Regions from separate parts of the Homo sapiens genome. Here region 1 is linked to region 2. Evidence: promoter capture Hi-C in 16 types of primary human blood cells and fetal thymus (Javierre and others, 2016). All regions are on one chromosome and are shown on one strand. Each heading gives the region's core, a stretch centred on a gene start or on the middle of the fragment in contact. The rest is flanking DNA. Distances are from core to core; before and after follow the strand shown. Region 1 has its middle 70 kb from the start of WASF3. Region 2 holds the start of RNF6 (ring finger protein 6).

Region 1 (4,024 bases), core at 142-2,641, 270 kb after region 2:
TCTGAGGCTTGAGCCAGACTCAGGAAAGGCAGCACTTTTCAAAGGCCAGGGCCCTCAGACCTCACCAGCACTTCAGAAGGAACAGAGAGAACAGGGACCGGCTGCCCGAGGCAAGGTGGACAGTCGGCGACCTGGGCCCTGCCGAGGCCTGCTAGGGACCCTTCACCACAGTGACCTCTGCCTGAGGAGACTCCAGGAACCCCCACTGCTGGCTTCTAAAGTATTGGCATCTTATTTGCAGTGACCTTCCATGTGTGTTGCCTGCCCGGGTTAATAGCCTTAAGAGCCTTCGTTTTCTGCACTGTTTAAAAATATTTTATTAGTTTACATAGAAAGTTGCTTACTTTACTCAGCTTTCTAATTCTTTAAGATCTGAGGCCTCTAGTTTACAACTTGATCCATTTTTAACCACCTTAATTTCCTTCCTGTTGTTGTCTAGAATTTTTCCCTTAACGTTTTGTCTTCTATCTTTAAAATTTTCCTCATTCCTTTTAGTGTGACTTATAAATCATTTTAGTTTCCTGAAGCTGACACCCTTTTATCATCCACATCTTAATTTTTACTTACCTGAATACATTTATTCGTAAAAACAAATTACTACCCTTTTATATCTCCTTCTCACATTTTGTTCGTCTTAATCTCTTTACTTGTTGCTGTTCCTTTTAGTTTCTTAGTTGGGTTAATATCTGCTTTCTTTTTTGGCTCTGGCTTGTAAGAGACAGGCAAGATGTGTGTGTCCCAGACGAGAGGATGGGGAGGGAGTGCAGGCTGGGAGTGCGGGCCAGGGACAGGGATCTCTAGCTGCAGCCAACTGTGCTCTGGCTCTGCTTTACACAGCTTCCATCCTCTTAGCCACAATCTTAATCTATGAGGACCGAGGTGCTGGTGCTCCTCCCCAGCGTGGTGACTATTAACCAGGGCAGGCGGCACACTTGAATTCATTCATTTAACAGATACCTGGTGCCACTGTGGGAACAAGGTGCCTCCCTCCCTGGCTTGTTCTGGTGGTGGCCAGACAAAAGCAAGCTTCCAGAGGTGATGGGAACCAGAAAGGACATTTAATAAAATTTAATAAAACATGAGACACAGGCCAAAGAGAGATGAAGTGAATAGCAGGAGGTTAGTGGACTTAGCAGAGAAGGTGGCAGAGCCCTGATCCTGATTTCTCTCTGTCTAAAGATAGGCAGAGTCCCTTCTGCATCAGCTGATGATGCCTGGGGACAGAGAACCAGGGAAGGTCTGAGGCAGGAGGCCTCAAGGACTTTGCAAGGAGCTTTGCTCTTTGTGCTTCTATGATGAACACTCATAACCATTTATTTCCCTTTGCTCTTCTGTTGTTTGTCTGTTTGGATCCATGGGACTTCTGGAAATAAAAATTGTTGGAAAATTCCATTTAGAAAGAATGACCAGAATGGTGTTGATGTGCCACTTGTATACTAACCACTTCCCCTTGTCAGGCACGAAAACATGAAAATCACATACAAACAAGCACAAGAAAGGGTCTATGCCACCTGGAGTGATCGGACAGTGGGGAGGCCGTGGACGGCCCCTGCTTCCTCAGGATGAGAGGTGGGCCACATTCTGCCCTCTCCTCTCATGCGGAGGTCAGTGCAGCGATCCTGCAAGAACAGGAAGGGACACGAGACCACACGAGGTTGGAGCAGCCATAAAGCAGAAAACCTCTCTCTCTTTGTGAGCACGTGTTGTAGGGTGGTTAGCCTAGAGAGGTAAGCCCCAAGAGTGTCATAACTATTCAGCAAGCTTCGTGGAACGGTGAGCATCCTTGGCCATCCCAGGAGTCTCCCTCCACCTGCAGGACCTCTGGCGCCTTAGCTGGGCAGGAATGTGTTTCCGGAAGTCCACCTTCAGATCCTTGGTTGGAGCTACAAAGCCAAGCAAGGGTCTGTCTACACGATGGCCCCAATGGGCAAACAAGGCAAGATGTCCCCCAAGTGGGCAAGGCCTGCCACAACCTGGGAAGCCAGCCAGCCGCTGGAATCTAGCCCGATCCCCTTCTTCAGCAAAAAAGTCAGACAAGGCTGGCCAGGCCAGCAGGCGACTCCAGGCGTGGGCTGGGAGGGAACAGGCTTGTCAGAGGGGGAAGGTCAGAAGACAAGCAGGGAGCAGTGATGACAGGCCCCCGTAAACCGCACAGGTGGCCCAGCTCCTTCCAGGGCCCAGGACAGAACTGATGAGGGCGACGCTCCACCCGGACCTCCATGCAGTGCCTCTGGTTTGACTTTAGGAAGAGAACGAGGGCTAAGTCTCCTGTGAGGTCTCCAGGGAAGGAGGCCATATAGAGGATGCAGAGGCAGGGCCCTGAGACCTTTTCTGAAGGGACCCTGCCTCCTCTCCCTCCTTGCAAGGCCACTAGAGGGTTCTCATGGGGTGGGGTCTTCTGCAGAGGATGGGGGAGAAGTCAGGTGGGACTCTCCCTCTTGCTTCAGCATTCACACAAATACTGGACCCCGTGGCTGGCCCCTCTGGAATGCTCAGCGCCTTGGAGAAAGGGGCGCCTGCGGCATCTTCCCGTCCTAAGTCTCACCTCCTCTGGCAAGGGTGTCACACTTCCAGTGGCCTCCCAATCGCCTTTTCTCAATTGGTCCCATTACATCCACATTTAGCTTAAGCGAATTCAACTGTAGGTGCTCAAAGAAAACTTTAAACGAAAAACAATGTAAATAAAGTGTGTGATTCTGCCAGCCCTTCCCCGCAATAAGCATATGCCCCAGAGAGCGGATCTGCCAACGTTTGCATCCAATTCTGAGCCTCTCCGAGGTGCGAGCATCTCGCACACCAGTGTTTAGAGTGACAATACATCTTTTTCATACAACATGACCTCGAAATGCAAGCCAAGCCGATTGCTTCCTCTGGTGCTCAGCCACAGAGACGGCCATCTGTCCCAATGCTGCAGGAAAACTGGCTGCGTTGTGTTTACTAGAGGCTGTGTTTCAGACACCAGCCTCTGATCTCCCTGGAGAATTCTTTTCTCCCAAGGTAATTTTGGTTAGACTTGATTTTCTCCTTAATGTTGACTTGAGAATCTACCTAACTGCTGTCTGAAATGCAACTCCACTCTGGCTCTTTTCCTACTAAGCTGCGAGCTCCTTGAAAGGTGGGCCATGTCTGCTTCATGTTTCCAATCCCAGCACATGCCTGGCACACAGTAGACATGGTGCCATGGAGGAATGAAGAGGCCAGAGCCTCCCTGAGGATAGGTTCCTGGCCATTCTCACTCATTTCCCTAAGGGTGGGCAGATTGAGATCTCCGAGGATGATTTGATTCCATTTCAGATCGGGATGAAGATGATGCAGCTCCTATCTATCTCTGCTGTTTTCGCCCACGATACCTTCTCATCTTTCTTTGGAGGGTCCCTGACAATTTTCTTCTGGTGGCCACTGCTGAGCAGCTGACACACACAGGGACTGCTCCATGCTGTCAACTCTTGCTTTTCGTAAGAACTTCTCCCTGGCACATAATAGGTAAGTGCTCAATAAACACACATTGAATGTTGAGTGAACAAATGAATAGAGAAATACCTAGTCTACCAGGTAACTACTCCTTAAGCTCTTTCCCTTTGATTTTCAGGCTCTTGCTAATATACAGCCCACTCTTCCCAGGAACAGCCTTTAGTAGAGTTTCCTAAGCACAGTGTGTGAATGTTACTTCTGAATTTATTCCTTCATCTCCTGATTTGGGTTCCTCCCAGCAGGGCGAATGGTAACCCTTAGATGGCTACAATGATGACACTGTGTTTGCCTCTATTCTATACATCCCATGATGGAAATAATTGTCTCTGTAAATCTGAACACCATGGACCACGATGGCCTCTCCTCCAATTGATCTGGACCGGAGGGCTTTTTGTCCAAAGCTCTGTCTCCTGGAGATTGTTATGTTAATTTCAATAGAAACCGCTTCATCGGCATCAGGTTCAATTTCATGTGACTCAGCTGGCCACCCTTTAGTTCCCTAAACTTGGATGCCATTGGAATCACATGGGGAGACCTAACTAGGTCTCGTTCC
Region 2 (4,239 bases), core at 1,502-4,001:
CCATCTTCTCTCATTTTCATGATGATTATGGTCTTGAGGTAAGGTTTCTTCACTGCCACCATCTGATCTCGATCTAGACTGATTCATCCTGAGATTCCTGGCTTTCTGTTCAAACAATATAAACAACATTCAAGGTGTTAAGTCATGGACCACATTTGGCTTTGTATTTTTAACTTGCAGTTTTTCTTAATTTTTAAATGTTGTCCCCTACCCAAATACTGTATTTGCCAAATCTTGCAGTGAGAAGCTTACATATAAAATGAAAAACAGCTTCTAGGAAATACAACACAATTGGCACTTACTTCTTTGCCTAAAGCCATTAAGTCAGACTGGATTTGGGTTTACCACACAATGCTCATGCCTGAATACCATAGTGATTATCTCATTTTTGACCATGTTGACGATCTGGAAAAGTTGATCCAGAAGTCCTCATTTATGTTTCAGGATCTGGGTACTTCACATTAATTACAAATTTTAGGCTTGAATTATGCACATTCTTCACTTAATGAGCAAAGGGATACTGGGATGATATAATTTACATTTGTTTTCAGCAAGGTATTCTTTCCAAAATAAGGCTCATGAATGTAATATTATCCCCCACTGCACTTTGATGAGGTGAAAATCATTTAGCCTAATTAATATCTACTGAACAAACTGGAAGGTGGTCTCTTATTAAAGCTTACCAGGAAGACTTTGAAACCCAACAGGAAACAAGACATCATGTATGGCTCAAGGATTGTGAAAGTGCATCAGAGCACTTTGTATCACCCCATATCAAGCCTCATCCTTAAGCCTGGAATGGTTAGTCCCAGGAGTTTCAGAATGCCAGTGAAACTTCCTGACTTTGCCTAAGAAACCACTATTTTTGGATTATATTTAAGTGTCACTCCTGAGAAGCTCACTTTTAAATTACATGGAAATCAAGAGAGAAAGATGTTTGTTTCACAAATATTTTAGAATTTCTTAAATACATCTATTCAGTAAGTCACACTAAAGCAATGGTTCTCAAACTCACTTAAGGGTATTTTTAAAAATCTAGATGCCCAAATCTCATCCCCAATCCTTGATTAGAGTTTTCCAGGGTAGGACCAGGTCTGCTGTTAAGAGCTAATTTGGGTGTTCTGCAGATGAAATAAACTATTCCTCGACAATTTCTGGCATGTCACTAAAGGGTATGAGTAATACAGCACCTGACTCAGTAGAGGCTGGAGGCTCAAATGGCTAGGCTACCAGTGAAGCAACTGTGCAACTCTGCCTCTCGAAATACACTAGGTATTTAATAAGCAAGCTGCTTTAAATATAAGGTGAAATTAGCCTACAAGTCTAAAATACTGTTGGAGTAAGCAACTATTCAATTTCACCTGTAACACTAAATTACAAATTCAAGGATTTTTTTCACTGTGGTTATTTTATTATGTCATTTTGAACAAATGACCTAGTAACATTATCCACTCAAATATGAATTAACACTACTAAAAACTCAAGATCTCTATCTTCAGATTAAGACCATAATTAGCAAAGAGCATATTTCGTAGGTACAGCAATAATAGGATTTTTGTAATAAATAATTTTACAAGTTGAAGCCTATCATAAAATCAAGTTACCCTAATATTATTTAAAACTTGAGCTTCTCCTTAAAGGTAATTTTCTTATACAGTTAATCACAATGAAAACAAAGCGAATACCTTATTTTCCTTTCAACACGCTTTTAACATATGCCATGGTATCCATCCTTCAATTGTTTGTGCCTTTTTTGAGAGCTGCCCATCTGAAGCAATAAAAGAGAGTTGAATAATTCAATAAACTGTTTCTTTAAAGGCCAGGAACGGGTGGTAGTCTCCCCACTCTGCTGCAAAGCCAAAGCAAATTCTCCAGTGGATTTTGTTAGACACATCTAGAAAATTAGATCCCCATACAATTAGGTCACGAAAACCTCCCGCAAGGCCCCTACCTTCCGCAACAAACTTAGGCCTTTCGTCCTACACTGTCACTGTTCCTGGGTTTACGCCTCCTCTCTCAAAGGCCTTCCTTCCTATCCCGTTCCCATTCGGATGTTACCAGGGTTAGGCGTCTCCGGCTTACTTCTAAACCTTGACTTTCTTGCCACCCCCGCCCTCCGTCCCGCTACTGGTTTCTTTCCCGGCCGTTGCGACGGAAGCTCGCGCCGGGGGACGATCCCCACTACGATAAATAAAGTGGGCTCAAGAGGCCCAACCAACCTCTTCCCAACCGAGCCTCAAGTAACGCTTCCCTTAGAGACCTAGATTCTCACAAGGAAGCAGGTGATAGACGGTGCATCCCAACCAATCACCAGCCAGCGGAGCGCAATAAGAAGGCAGTTAACCAATCGGAGAAGAGATGGGTGGCTCGAAGGATGGCCTGCTTTCCCCGGCGTCTCCAGGAAGTAGTGGTGGGACCCAGATCTTTCCCTCGAGCCCACCTCTCCAGGTCTTGGGCCTTCGCCCTCCTGTCCGGAGAACGTGTGCTGTGGGCGGCCGTTCTCTCGGGTGCTGGAGGCTGTGGTTGGGAGGCGGGATAGGCTTGCCGCCGCGCCTCCGGAGCCCGCTGTGCCCTCGAATTGGCCACTGAGGAGAGAAGCCGGAAGCCCGTGCTGCAGCGTGGGGTCGTCCAGCTGGAGGGGATACTCGGGAGGAAGAACGGCAGGCCCCAGCCCTTCTTTCCCGACAGCCACGCCGCCCACTTGGCGGCGGGGAGTCGCTCCGCAGCCGGCCCGGAGCTCGCCCGTGCAACTGAAAACTGCGTCCGTCGGGAGCTAGGGTGCCTGGCGTCCCGCGTTCCGCCCTCTTGCGCCGCCCTTACAGTGCCTCCTCCTCGAGGCCAAATGCCCGGCCGCTCAGCGCTCGTGGCAGCCGCGTAGTTGCAGAGACACGGTCTGCTTTCCAGGCTTGGGAAGTCCCAGCACTTAACTCTGCGCGTCGGTGTCGCTCGTTTGCCAGCCAGACTATAAAGTGCACCCAACGGTGTATGCGTCTCTTTACTTCCGGGTGTAACGTACTACCCAGCCAGGCCCTTTCCCTTGCTGTGCTTTGGAACCTGGAAATTACAAACCCTAATAAATTCTGAAGTCTGTCTGTCTGTCTATCTCTATTTGAGACAAGGTCTCATCCTGTCGCCCAGGCTAGAGCGATCGTAGCTCACTGCAGCCTCCAGCGATCCTCCCTCCTCATCCCAGTAGCTGGAACTACAGGCGCTTGCCATTAATTTCACATTTTTTCTTTTGTAGAGACGGGGGTCTCGCTATGTTGCCCAGGCTGGTTTCGTACTCGGCCTCAAGCAATCCTCTCACCTCAGCAAAATGGGATTACAGGCATGAGGCACCGCACCCCACTATATTTTGTGTTTTTTCACCTTCCCGCTAGGAAAGCAGTTTGAAACTCCCAACATTCCTCCCTCTGATTTTATTTCTGAGATGTGAGGCTTACTAAACTTACCTCACCGTTAGTTAAGATGCTGAGTAGGTCTCTGTCTAACCTGGTATAGTCCCCTTTCCTGACATCCCTACCATCTGATGACTTCATCACTGGAGAGTGCTCACAATGCCGTTACTTGTTATTCTTCCGTTTGTTCTTTCATTTCTGCATTAACTTTTGAGGAACTACCATATCCCCATTATTATGCTGGGCACCTGGATAACAAGCTACATGCAGTCCTTAGCATCAATGAGCTACCAGTGTAGTAAGGATCTATGGACAAGTGTTTAAAATAAGCATATGGATATGGATACTAAAATGGAAATATATAAAACAGCCTAGAAAGCCCTTCCAGATCTTTCTTCTGCTTACATTTACAGGCTGTTGTCTTGGCACTCCGAAACTGCTTGAAGTTCCGCCACAAGATATGGGAACTCCTAAGCAACCCCCAACTCCACTTTTACCTAATTTCCTCTGTCTCCCAAAACTCAGCTCAGTTCTCATCTTTAAGGAATTTTTCCTGATACCTCTGAAATAACACCCTTACCTCACCCTCCAGCCCGATATTTACACATAAAACTAAGCAAATGTCCCTTTTGGGGGCTCCCATACTCCCTCTATATATAAAACCCTATTTTAGCATGTATTCATGTATTTAACAAATAGTGAGTGTGACTATGTATTAGGTGCTGGTGATGACAGCCGTGAATCAGACAGTCATGTCCTCATAGAATGAAGTCCTTGCCCTCTTTTCCCATGGAAAAAGAGCCATTGAGCAAATACTTAAGATGATTTTCTGTTTTTAGGT

Evidence for each region. Contacts are between HindIII fragments. The CHiCAGO score rates a contact against its expected background, and 5 or more counts as called.
Region 1: a fragment that was not itself captured here is called in contact with the fragment with the promoter of RNF6 in region 2 in 3 of 17 cell types (total CD8 T cells, naive CD8 T cells and naive CD4 T cells); the score reaches 7.9 in total CD8 T cells.

The regions. Positions count from the first base shown.
Region 1 is chr13:26,485,943-26,489,966 of GRCh38, forward strand. No RefSeq gene overlaps it. Among named protein-coding and RNA genes, the nearest start is that of WASF3, 70 kb to the right of the region's middle. RefSeq lists an enhancer at 1-81. The HindIII fragment of the contact is 735 bases long and covers 1,025-1,759 here.
Region 2 is chr13:26,219,563-26,223,801 of GRCh38, forward strand. RNF6 (ring finger protein 6) reads right to left here and starts at 2,752. Exons shown (of 5, transcript NM_005977.4): 1 at 2,441-2,752; 2 at 1,686-1,768; 3 at 1-105. The coding sequence starts at 87. RefSeq lists enhancers at 1,524-2,405, 2,406-3,287, 2,433-2,812 and a silencer at 1,933-1,982. The HindIII fragment of the contact is 7,611 bases long and covers 677-4,239 here.